2 separate regions of the Homo sapiens genome follow, and region 2 is linked to region 1. The links are contacts of gene promoters, found by promoter capture Hi-C in blood cells and fetal thymus (Javierre and others, 2016). All regions are on one chromosome and are shown on one strand. The core of a region is centred on a gene start or on the middle of the fragment in contact, and the rest is flanking DNA. Distances in the headings are between cores, read along the strand shown. Region 1 holds the start of PLPPR4 (phospholipid phosphatase related 4). Region 2 overlaps SNX7 (sorting nexin 7).

Evidence for each region. The method cuts DNA at HindIII sites, captures the fragments that hold promoters and counts their contacts. A CHiCAGO score of 5 or more calls a contact.
Region 2: a fragment that was not itself captured here is called in contact with the fragment with the promoter of PLPPR4 in region 1 in 1 of 17 cell types (naive CD8 T cells); the score reaches 5.1 in naive CD8 T cells.

The regions. Positions count from the first base shown.
Region 1 is chr1:99,262,312-99,268,924 of GRCh38, forward strand. It overlaps PLPPR4 (phospholipid phosphatase related 4), which reads left to right and starts at 2,181. Exons shown (of 7, transcript NM_014839.5): 1 at 2,181-2,360. The coding sequence starts at 2,283. The HindIII fragment of the contact is 14,890 bases long and covers 1-6,613 here.
Region 2 is chr1:98,695,608-98,702,136 of GRCh38, forward strand. SNX7 (sorting nexin 7) reads left to right here. Exons shown (of 9, transcript NM_015976.5): 5 at 1-109; 6 at 3,099-3,298; 7 at 6,210-6,296. Among named protein-coding and RNA genes, the nearest start is that of SNX7, 37 kb to the left of the region's middle. The HindIII fragment of the contact is 6,000 bases long and covers 1-4,268 here.

The DNA of each region.
Region 1 (6,613 bases), core at 931-3,430:
AGGCACACTTGTAGTTACCAGAAAACATAATAATGAAAATGTGCTTGACTTTACAGAGTTCACTAGTGGGTGAGGCAGACAAGATAAAAAAGGACACAGAAATACTTGATATACTATCAAATGGTGACAAATTCTATGAAGGAAAATAAAATAGTATAAAAGAATAAAGAGTAACAGAGGTCTGAGATTATGAATCTACTCGGTGCATCAAACACAACTTCCCTGAGGAGTTAAAATTTGTGCAGAGATATGAATTAAATGAGGGGTTAAGCCATGCAATTTTGGCGGAACAGAGTTCTTGGACAAAGGAACAGTAAGTACAAAGCTCCTGAGGCAGTGAAAGGCTAGGCTGGAACGGCCAGACCATTGAGGTGCAAAGTGATGTGAATGAGGTCCTAGAACCAGGCAAGGTGGCCAGGCAGGGCTTTAAGGAAGAGACGGGAAGTTTGGACTTTCCATTGAAGTGGAAGAGAGCTCTTGGAGGGTTTGGGTAGGGGAATAAAACAATTGGGTTTACTTTCCAAAGGACCTTTCTGGCTGCTGCGTAGGGAATGGTTTGTAGGTTGTGGGAATGGCAAATGCAAAAGCTGGTAGAACAGTTAGAAGGCCGTTAGGTTATTCCAGTCTAGGCAAGAGATGGCGGTCGCTGTGTGTGGTGGGGGGTGAGGGCAAGCACTGAGTTTAGGAAGAAGATGTAGTTCTCTTCTGATTACTTCTATTTTCTAAGTGAAATAAGAGTTAATGTCATGAACTGAGAATGAGGAGATTTGAGAAGTGAGAAGTTGTGAATGGGAAAATGGCTGGACAGAAAAAATTATAGAATCGTGGGGGCAACTCCAGGACCTACTTGGAGTTTGTGGTCATGAGTTGGATGTGAGACAGCATCATGCGGTTGTGTGTTTTTCTCCAGCCACTTTCAGTTGCTCTGGTAAGGGCAGAGAATTGGGTTCAACTAAGCCGGGATATTATCAGGTGAGTATGGCAAATTGGGAGGCGGAAACAAGCAATTATATTGCTAGACTTTGGAACCCAAGCCTGGCAGAAGAAAGTGGGGGCAAGAGGTGGTGTTGGCAGTGAAATGAGTATATTATTAGATAGGATGGTCCCATACTGCCAAAGACCTATTGGAGGAGCAACTAAAAAAGGGAAATGGATAAATGAGTTGGGAATTGGCCATCACATGCTTGAAATGGAGACTTGGAGATATTGGAAATGGCCTGGGACATGTGATCACAAAATTAGGTCATCTTTATTAGTATAATATCATGTCTCGTGTTTGCTGGGTCTTTCTCTCTTCTATATCAACTTGATACTTCTGGTTGCCAAAGTAATCACAAAATTGAGACTAGCCATGTATACTGCCAACAAGATGAAGGACTTTAGATTATTAATATCTGAAGACATACTTCTTTTTACTGTTATGATTGCAATACTGACACTGTTCTGGGGGTGTGACAGTGAGATTAGAACATACAGTAGCCTCTGGGCTCAATGAGGATGCCCATTACCTGTGCATTCACACATCTGCCTCTCTGGATGCAAGGAACCCACATCATTCCCACACAACCGGTAGTGTTTGTTAGTGGGTGCTTCGATATGGAAGGGAGATAAGGAGTCTCCTAGGCAGAGAATCCCCCGTAGGAGCTGTCATTCCTGGGTAGCAACAAGCTGTCAGTTAATGCCTACCTCAGCCTACTTTTCAGTATGGGATCCAAGATCTCATTTCGTGGAGGTAGGGGTTGGTTTTCTTGCTATGGGTCAGCGCGCTGGAGCAGGGCTTCTGATCCTTAGCATTCTTTAATAGCATTCCTAGAGTGACCTAGGAGGCTCCCCAGGAGGAGACTAGGTGGCTTAGCTCCTCAGCCTAACTACTGCAGAAACCAGGAGTGCGTCCTCCTTTTCGGATTCTTGACGTCAAGCTCCGACAGCCTTGGAGCGTCGCAAGGGCGGTAGAGAGCTGAGGGAGGGTGACAGGGAGGGGAAGCCATTGCAGCAACAGCTTGGAGGAGGGAGCTGGACGTCGTCTCTCGCCAGAAAAACGGGGAGCAGGAGCCAGACTAGGGGAGGAAGAGGACTGGCCCGCTCAGGGAATAGCTGGGTTGCTGCAAAAAGGGGCGGGGAGAAGGCGGGGGCGCTGCATGCAGCGCGCTGGCTCCAGCGGTGGCCGCGGGGAATGTGACATCAGCGGCGCCGGGCGCTTGGGGCTGGAGGAGGCAGCTCGCCTCAGCTGCGCTGTGCACACCTCGCCCGGGGGAGGACGCAGACCCGGGCAGGCGGCAGGGATGTCGGCGAAGGAGAGGCCAAAGGGCAAAGTGATCAAGGACAGCGTCACCCTCCTGCCCTGCTTTTATTTCGTCGAGGTGAGTTGGCCCAGTGCCTTGGCATAATGCAGATCCTCTGGGCATCTCCTGAGCGAATTCAGGTCCTGGACAGTGTTGGAGGCGCAGAGATCCTGCCGGGCGCGCGCGGCTGTCCCCAAATGCCCGACCCTCCCCTCTTCCCCTAGATTTCACAGCAGCTCCCCGAATGTGCCTGTGAATACCTGTCAGCCCGGGGTGATTACCATTAGAGGTGTCGCTGCTGGGTGGCCTGCAGGGAACGGATACCTGTGTGAGTGAGTGTGGTTTTAGTTCCTTGGCCCTCCTGTAGTGCCTGTGTGCACAACGTCCGCTAGTGCCCCAGAGGGGCCATGATGCCCATATTTCGGGATTTGTGTCTTCAACCTGCCGAGTACGTGTCGGGAACTCCGTGTGCACACAGCTATGCCTAGGGCATATGAGGGTTGAAGGTGTTTACATAGTACAAATATTGTTAATTGCTTTTATTGCTCCTGCCCCCCCCCCCCAAATCCTTCTCCTATTATATTATTTTGGTGCTCACATACGCTTCTGAAATTGGATCTGCATCTCTAAACATCAATCATCAATGTACTGGCCTCTTTCCACAGTAAAAAATACATATTATATATGTGTGTATACATAACTATATATAATATTTTAAATCTATGACATCATCTGATTTTACATGATTTGTATCTGAGTATTTACTGTGCTGAGCAGTATTATAGATAAACAATTAAATGCAGATGTATCCGTAATGACCCTCTAACTTACCAAAATGCAGTATTTGAGGGAGAAACAATTCATAGGAGTGTTATAAAGATTGGCAGATACAGTGATTCCGTGTACTGTGCTCCATTGCATTAGGAAGACATTTTTAAGCAAGAGGTTTATTAAATTACAGATACTGAAGGGTTGTATTGCATAGATTTAGGGAAATCAGATGGTTTTAGGCACAAAACTATATTCTGTTTAGTTAGAGTCTGGGTTGCATAGAGAATTATAAGACTGTTGCTGAATCATAAATATCCTTCTCTGGCCATCTTTTCAGCCAAATATGGAGGTTTAGCCCTTCGAAGTGCAAACAGTAGATTCTGTATTCAATGATTGTAAGGCTTATCTGTCCTGAGGAATAGTCACTGCCTTGAAACTTGGGAGAAGAGACATTGTCGGACTGTTCTTATAGGTAACAATATATTTGGAAGTTTTGTAGAAGTGTCATAGATTTTTTAAATAATTTCAGTTTCAAGAAAGATGTATGTGACTTGCATAACTTTCAGAGAAATGATGGGTGACCCCTGCATTCATGAACCATAGAAAAGAAGAAAAAAAAATCTATGTATTTAAAATAATGAATCCATTTATTATCCTTTCTCTTTTCACAAGAGATTTTTGGGAACATGGTTTAGGTAATTTTTGTTGAAAGATAATAAAGAGCTTTCTCAAGAAAAATGTAGGTAGCAGAAGATTCCATGATGAAAATGGTGAAGGAATAGAAAGATGAGATACCTGCCTTCAAGTTCAATCCATCAGACCACTTGTCGCATGGCTAATCCGTGTAGTTTTGTATTATAGTGATTTCATTTGTGTCTGAATCAATGACATTTGTCTAGGAGAAATCAGTTAATGGCTGAGTTCCATCTCCAGGAAGGAACACACCTGAGGTCAGCTAGAAGCTGACTACATGTGGGTTGCAGCTATATGGCTTCAAGGAAAATGCCCTCATGAAAGAGGAGGCAAACCAGAGAATTAAGGATGTGCCTTTACAGAATGTACGTGGGCGCTTTTGAGGCATCTTTAACCGGAGTACATGTCCCTTAAGCAAGAATTTTAAAAGTACAAGTGCCTCATAATGCAATTGAATTGTGTGTTTAGGAACAGACATCTCACAATTGTTACTTCTTTTCCATGAGTGGAAATAGCCCAGATTCATTACTTTTACTTTGGCCTATTCAGATACCCTCTATGAATTCCTTAGCAGGGCAAGCTGTAGAACAATTACTTGAACACAATTCATGGAGTTTAAATGAGCATTGATGACACTGTATCTTGGGGTTAACAGACTTCAAAGACAGAGCCACACAATTGGATTGCAAATTATCTTCCTAAAAATTAAATGCATGATGAACCACTAAAGAGCCTCCAGAAAATGGGAGACTGCATTAGTATAAAAATTATTTAAGGGTTTGACCACATGCACTATCACGCTCCTTTGAAATGACTCATTTTGAAGCTGGTGAGAATGCACTAAATTTACATCTCCTTCGTAGGATGAATAAACATAGCTGGAATTTGCATGTTAGTAAAATGCTCTAGAGTAATGACACTTTGCTTTACAGCATAGTTTCCCAAGACCTTAGAAATTAAGATGGAAAAGTGAAACATGAGTGAATCTCCTTCCATCACATATCAGTCTAAAGCATATATTTTTAGCCTTCTCTGTTACTCAAACCATAATTTAAGTAACAAGAAGAGGCTAACAAAACAGATCTCAGGAGAAAACAGTCCCTGGTTCTCAAGTCAGTGACACCATGAGCAACTTACACTTTGCCTTTTTTCAAGGAGTTTAGAAGTTTTAAATTACTAATTCATGATAGGTATGAGATGTGAAGAAACTTTAATTGGGAAAATGAGGGAAGGGAAACTTACACTCGAGCCAGAGGGGGCTGAAATCAAGATGGACTGAGTTGTGTCAGGAAAATGGCAGCATGCTCTAGGAAAATCCTGGGCCTTGCAGACAGATTGACTTGGTTCAAACACCGCCTTTGCCAGATACTACATGAATAATTCTGGCCAAGTTACTTCTCTCATCCTTAGTTTCTTCACATATAATAGAATTTACATAATATAAATATAAATACACCTGTATTCATACATAAGAGAAATTATTATACCTACATCTTAGAATATTGAATATATTATGAGGTTAAAGGATCATGACTGAGATATGGTAGGCAATCAAGATATGTTAGTTCCTTTCCTTTCTTATAACTGTTCTTGACCTGAAATAAATTATTTTACTTATAGTTTGGACTTAAGGGATCAAGTCCTGACAAGGTCTAGCTTAAGAGTTCCCATTGTTGAGAAGAAGTCATCTTCTCCCCAATTTCTAGAAATAGTTTGGGCTCCACAGGCTTCTTGAAATGGACTTGTATTAATTGACACAAATGGGGAGAGTGAAGTACTATTTACAGTTTGTACAAGAATAATGACAACCATTTATAAAGTACTTAGTATGTACTAACAATAAAGCTAAATGCTTTACATCCACCATGTTGTTCAATCTTCAAAGTTTCTCTTTAAGAAAGAGGCCATTATTATCTGTGTTTTGAAGAAGAAACTGAAACTCATAAAAGTTAAACAACTTGCCCAATTTTATAAAGCAAAGTTAGAGGCAGGGCTGGGTATTAACTCAAAGGTCACGCTCTTCACCACTGCAATAACAATCTCTCTCAACTTGTTGAAAGAACATTCACATAGGCAAAGTTACTTTCTATTGTTTCTCACTGGTAAAAAAGGAAGATGTAGTAAGGCAAGGGCACACTGACAAACAGGGTGATACAGTTTTCTCTGGCAACAGATCAGCTTCCTCAGCTCAGTTCCTCCTCCACTGGGAGTGTCCAAGCACAAAGAGTTGGAGGACAGTGCATACTCCCCACATTGGCTCATCAGTTAGTGGCTAGTGCCCCTCAACAAGAACTCTGGATAGATGCAAGGAAGGAGTAAAGATGTTGGCAGCCCATTTGCAGAGTGTCAAGGTATCTCTAATTATACCCCAATGGGCATTAGGCTGAGGTGTTGGTGTTCAGCCACTAAAACCAAGTAATCTTGTCCTTGTTCACCACGATACCTGATGTTAAAGCACACATTAGTTGAAGGGATAGAATTTAGGGATAGAATTATTTTTTTCTTACATTTTTGGTTTATGCTGCTGCTTGCTAATGAAATGGCTTATGGTTGACAGTAATATTAGATGGTGACTTGAAAAATACGATGATTTTTAGTTTTGCACCTCATTTTATGAGCAAGTTTCTTAACTCAGTTTTACACTGTACAGCCTGGGAAAACAAAGGTCAAGTTGTGAAAAGAACTCTCAGACAAGCATACCCACACCTTATTAGGATAAAGAGAAAAGCAGGTAAAAAGCAATGTTCCACTAGAGAAAAGGTTTATCATGCCCTTAAAGTTCCCAAGTACACTGCAAGTGATGGCTGTATCACTTACAGTGGCAATTGCAGCCAGCAGTATACCTAGAGTTAACAAAAGAGTATTCA
Region 2 (6,529 bases), core at 19-2,518, 570 kb before region 1:
AAAAACCGCCCAGAGGAGTTCATGGAAATGAATAACTTTATTGAACTATTTAGCCAGAAAATAAATTTGATAGATAAAATATCTCAGAGAATTTATAAGGAAGAAAGGGGTAAGTAGAATTACTGAAATGTGATTTCAAAGTTGTTCAGTTTCTGATGAATCTTCACATTTGTTGGTGTAATATAGCAACATTCAGTTAGAATGTCAGCTTCAAAGTGTGGCTTATTCCTAGCCATCTTATGGACATTTCTGATTCCTAAATGATTTCGAAGGTAGTTATGGCCAGTCTCCATTTTCACTTTTATCAATCACTAGCTGCTCTACTTCCCATTCATAGATAATAGTGGTAAAGTAAGCCCGAGTTAAAGATTGTGGATGTGGTTGTTTGTATTCAACATGGAACAGAGCTCAGAATCAAAGAAGTGATGTTTCAGGAAATAGGGTTTTCATATTTTCTGGTAATTATTTTTTTCTGGAGGGAACAGATACTCTGTATTAAACCTGTCGAAGTATGGCAGAGAGATTTACGTATTGGAAAATCTGCCTCTTTTCCTATTTTCTTTTTTTTTTTTAGTTTATAAATCAGAATTGTTGGTGAATTTTTTTCTAATTCTAATCACGTGATGATTTTTTCCCCTAATTTTCTAATTGCATTTACTTACATTAAAAAATAGATAACTGAGTCAGCAAATAATTTCCTAATATAATTTGTTATTAGAGATGAGGAACTACATAAAGACAAACAAAAGTTCCTAAGTTGATGGCTTATTTGTTAATTGACCTCTACTTAACTGTACTGCCAGTCAGGATAAGCTGGGAAATATCTTATTTCTAGTATCCGGGCAGTGTTTAAACATAATAAGTACTTAATTAAAATTTGTTCAGTGATTGAAAAAAAACCACGAATGAACATAAGATTTGGAATGGTGTAGGAAAAGGTGCTTTATTAAGAATTGATTGGTTTTAAAAAGAGATATAGAAAAAAATTATAACTGCATGTACTTTGCCCCTTTTCTAACTTTTTTTCATGCATTGACCCCTGATGAGATTACTGTAGTGACTGAATGTAGTATAATAATTTATTTTAAACCTCTTTGGTTTGCCCTTACATTTATTATTTGTCTTTTTTTTTTAACCTGAATAAGTGAATTATTTTAACTAGGTTCTGTGATTCCAGTTCTATTAAGTAGATTCTGGATGCATAGTTAGGTGGTATGGCAATTCAAAGAGATGTCTGGAAACTATTGGTAGTTAAGAGCTTTATAAACTATCAATGAGTATCAAAGAGTAATTAAGATGGTACCTGTTAAGCTCACAGTCTAGTTGGGAAATATGTATATTAACAGATAAATTACAGTGCAGCTAACTAAATGTTTGCATACAGATTGATTTGAGTGGTATGTAAGCACAGTTTAGAATTTTAGGGCAGCTTTGCATATAAACATAAATATTGTTCAGGTTTAATGACTGACATTGACATATATTGAGAAAATGAGAAATTTGAGATTTCTCAATTGACTCAATTGAGAAAAGAAAGTGGAAAATTTTCTTTTCCAGAAATTAGTTCAGTATGGTCATTATTTAACATAAAGACAGGCCTAGGATCAGGAAGGTGGAGTTTGGAAGGACTACAGAGGTGATTAAATGTTCATTACATAACAACTAGTATCTCCATTGTTTTTAAATTTCATATTTTTAAACTTTTTATTTAATACAGACTTTTAAAGTTTTAGTAGTTTAGAGAAATATGACAGATATCAGCAAACCCTAATGAGTTGTAAGATGGTTAAATATAGATAATTTGATTGTATTTATATGGATAGTGAACAAAAAACGGTCACTGCTTATAAATTTTCCACCACAAAAAGCTATACATCATTGAAAATTAAGTGTGAAAGTAAGAATGTAAAATTGTAAAGACAGTCACATTTTAAAATGAAATCCAAAAATTTTTGAATACATAGCGTATCAAACACTGAATGGTCTTTGGTTACTCATGTATGCATTCTTTCATTGATATGAAAATATTTATTGAACTCATTACATATAAGGGTTTGAGATAGAAAAATAATAAGACTCAGTCCCTGTTTTAAGGAGTATGTGGCCAAGAGCATTTGAGTTATAAGACATCTATAATACAGTGGGATAATGCTTTAATAGAAGTATAAAATTATGATAAGCTCATTGAGGGCCAAAGCATCTATGAATCCTTTGGAACAGAATCAGAGGAGATTTATTTGAACTGGAATTTAAAGGATTAGAAGTAGTTTGTCAGGTGATAGAAATGGAGGACAAGGCAGAGGGACATGTGCAAATGTTTTTGTAAAGAGAAATCATGGGTTATTCATGAATGAACAAGCAATTTGGCTTGAGTTAAAATCTTTGGCAGAGAATTTCACATTGGACCTGGAGAAGCAGACGGTGAGGACTAATTTAACTAATTTAATTTAACTAATTCTAATTTAGCTACAAAGAGTCAATGTTTCTATACTCTGATAAAAATAGAGGGAGAATAGTTAGGAGACCCTTGAAGCAGTACAGATTAGAGATGCTGATGGTGGTGGAAGTGAAGATAAGTACATAGGTAGATGGATAGTTTAAGATCTCGAAGTTTTGGAATTGGTGATTTACTGGCTCTGTGTAAGTATGATTCTAGGATAACCTCCCAATTTTTTGCTTAGATTTATGGATAGTAATTACCACTAAGTAGAATATATAGTCAGAAGAAGGGGAGAAAGAAGATGCTAAGTTTTTTTCAGGGCATGTTGCCTGTCAGGTACTCAGATATAGTTGTGTGGTAGGCAGAAGCCTAAATAGATATGATGGTCATATAATTTATTTTTCAAGCCAAGACATTTTTGACACTGAAAAGGTATGTTATTATTGATTACACTTGGACAGTAGTCATTCAAAGACTGACCTGGGGCAAACTGTGATGGCTGGTTGATTTAATGAAGGATGATATCCGTTTTCTTATGTTCTTGTGTAAGAACATGTGCACTGTGAGAGAAATAAGGCCCTTTCTTACTCTCTAGGATACAGGTATTTTGAAAACTTTTGTTTATTGAAGAGCTTATTAAGTCTTTTTTTTTTTTTAGAATATTTTGATGAAATGAAAGAATATGGCCCAATTCATATTCTGTGGTCAGCGTCAGAAGAGGATCTGGTTGATACTCTAAAGGATGTTGCCAGCTGCATTGACAGATGCTGTAAGGCCACTGAAAAGCGGATGTCTGGACTCTCAGAGGCCCTGCTTCCTGTTGTACATGAGTACGTGCTTTATAGTGAAATGTTAATGGTAAGAACACCTAATTCTAATTTTACCTCAGTCCCTTACCTGATTATAAGCTCCATAAAGGCAACTGTATTTCTTTTCTTTAAAACCACTATCTTTTTGTCCTAGCAGGTTGTTTTGCATGTAGATGTTCAATAAATATTTATTCACTGTGTGTCTAAATAGATGAAGGAAAGAATCCGTTGTTAAAAAGCAGGAATACTCAATAGCAACACCAACAATTTATCAGATTATACGTAGACTTGAAGCATCCTCAATCAAAATTTACATAGGGAATATGATTAGTTTTTCCAAACCTTGTGAAATTTTACTTTAAAATTTTTTAGTGCTTTGGGGATTTTGAAAGAACTGCTCTCCTGCTTCTAGGTACATTTGATTTAGCAATATATTTAGTACCATTATGTAGAAAGTACTTGAGTTGGATCTTGATGTTCTGCCTTCTGGTTGCTTTTAAAAGAAATCTTTCAAGTTAAAATGTTTTTCTTTCACTACTTGAAAAGGCTTTTATTCCTCTTATATCAAAGTTTTGCATTTTACTTCCTCAGTTCAAGTTAAGGTTTCCAGATATTTGGAATTTAGCAATGCTATCTGCAAAGCTAATATTTTTCATCCAGTATTTTTCTGTGCCTACAATACTTTACACAGGCAAATTGGCACCCTCAGTGTTTTAGGGTGGTGATGGGGACAGGAGTCAGCTTGCATTCAGATACAGCTCCTTTTTTCCGTTCTTTATAATTGGAACCATGGTTTCTTTGGACATGTACCCTTGATTTCTAGAGATTTCTTTCAATTTTTTTCTTTTTTAAAAACTTTTCCTTGTTTTGGTCTGAAAAGCTCACTTTGTGTTTCAGCATGAGATCTGCCTCTCTCTTGTTGATCATGTTTAGGTTTAGTTTGACAGAGTCATTAAATATTGCACAGACATTTCAGGCTTTGGCTGTACTTAACTTTATTGGAGTCCTCCTGTAAACAAAGCTTCTTGCTTCCCAAAAGCCTTCGATGTTTCACTGTTGATGATTCTCTTTCCTCTCTCTATCCATTTCCTTGGCTACATCCTTTGGTTTCACTTCATTATTGGGGTCACCCCCTTGTGTCAATCTTCAAGAAGATCAGATTTGTATGTTCTGTTCCATTAATTAGTGTTTTCTCCTATATTATATCAAGATGGAAATTATGTAATTGAAGTATTACATTATTAAGGGTATGGAAAAATAAGAATTATTTTATAGGTCCTCGTTTGATTGAATTAATTTTTAGATGCCTAGGGTATAATAAGTAGTACTTATATTGCATTTCTTGTTCTGTTTGATATTGGAACATTCTCTTCAATTTCAGCTAAAGTAATGAAAAATAATCCTTCCATAAAAATGATTAATTTCATGTAATTTTCACCAGTTGTCCTCTGAAGCAACCTTTTACTCAAAATGTATTTGTGCATATGAAAACCAGTGCTTCATCTTTTTTGAAACAAACCTTAAATAAATAGGACTGAATTAGAGAGTGAGTCATTTTGGTCAAAGAAAGGAAGGGCTTTCTTGACATTAATGGTATTTAAACATTGAGGTAAATATAAAGGAATTTGAGATATCAGTTGAATTTTCTATGGACTTCTTTGCAACTAGGAAAAATGTTAGCTTCCTTTGATTTTTTTTTTTTTTAAGAGACATGGTCTCACTCTGTTGCACAGGCTGGAGTGTAGAGGCATAATCATAGCTCACTACAGCCTCGAACTCCTGGGCTCAAGTGGTCCTCCCACCTCTTTCTTCCAAAGTGCTGAGATGTGATATAGGTGTGAACTACTGTGCCTGGCCTGCTTTGAATGTCTTAAGAGTCATTCCACCAGGTGCAAAACTGTACTAAGTGATTCTTAATCCTTAATGCTTTTTGGTTATCATTTAAATAGTGTAGAGCCATCTTGTTTGACCTCCATGTAACTGATTTGTGTCTAGTTTCTTTCCTTCTTCTTTAAAACACCAGAAGGCCCTTCTCTTTTATGTCCTGTACTTCTCTAGCTGGTTGAATTGTTTGCTTGTCCAAACTTAGTTTTATTTTTTCCTTAACCTGTTCAGGCCATTTGTGCTTCTTATTAGAATTTCATTATTTAATATTGTGAAAACCAGTAAAAGATGAGTACAAATAAAAAGAGTCCTTGTATCCTTAAAGTCTAAGTTACATGTCTCGGAAGAAATGTGAATCACTTAAAGACATTGTAAAAGTTCGGCAAAAATGAAAGATGTAGTTGAATTCTGCACTCAAATTTCTTCACATGGGTGCTTTAAGTTTAAAAACTCTGAAACATGAAATCAAGAAAACAAGAAACTCCTATCAAAGAGGAGGCTATGATCTCTCATCCAAAGCTTGGCTAACTGATGAATATTTTATATTTTGAGCTAAAATAAAATGCTTAGGATATGAATGCATACTTCAATTTTCTGATTTCCTACCATAATTTCCTGTTTGATTATCTGATCCTTTGGAGTCAGGTAAGAAGGTTGCCACAGAGTGTAGATATGGTCCATGTGACATCCCACCCATAACTAGTTTATGCCATAGTGTATTTCTCCAGTGCTTCTACTATTTTTTGTTTGTTTTGCTCTTTACTATTTTTGAAGAATTGTACATGCGTATTCCACCAAATGTAGTACATATGTACAATGCTTAAATGGGTAAAATGTGCATTAGGAAAACTAATAAAACATTTATAGGAAAAAAAACCCTCTTAAATACTTGCTTTCAATTTAGTTTTTAGAGAGTAACAAAAAAAAAAAAACAACTTTTTAAATGTATTATATCCCCAAATGACTGATGGCTTGGGGAAGAGATGCTATTTATATTCTGAAATATATATTTTTGCTATAGGAAAGATTATTAAAACTAAGTACAGCCTATTTTATCTGTGTGTTTTAATGTAAAGGGTGTTATGAAAAGAAGAGACCAAATACAAGCAGAACTGGATTCCAAAGTTGAAGTTTTGACCTATAAAAAGGCAGATACTGATCTGGTAAGTTTTTAAGTTTCTTGATACAATCATATAGAATTCATTGTCTAAAATTTTTATTAGCAATGTCCTTACATGATTGTCCTTACATGATTGTTTCTTATATGATTGTTTCTAAGCATTAAGCAAATTATAGTAAAATTTCTTCCTAAAATCTGTTATACATTGGATACCATGTGAGTCTACAAGCTTAACAATGACGGTTTTCTGCCTTTCTGACTTATGTCTCATACTAT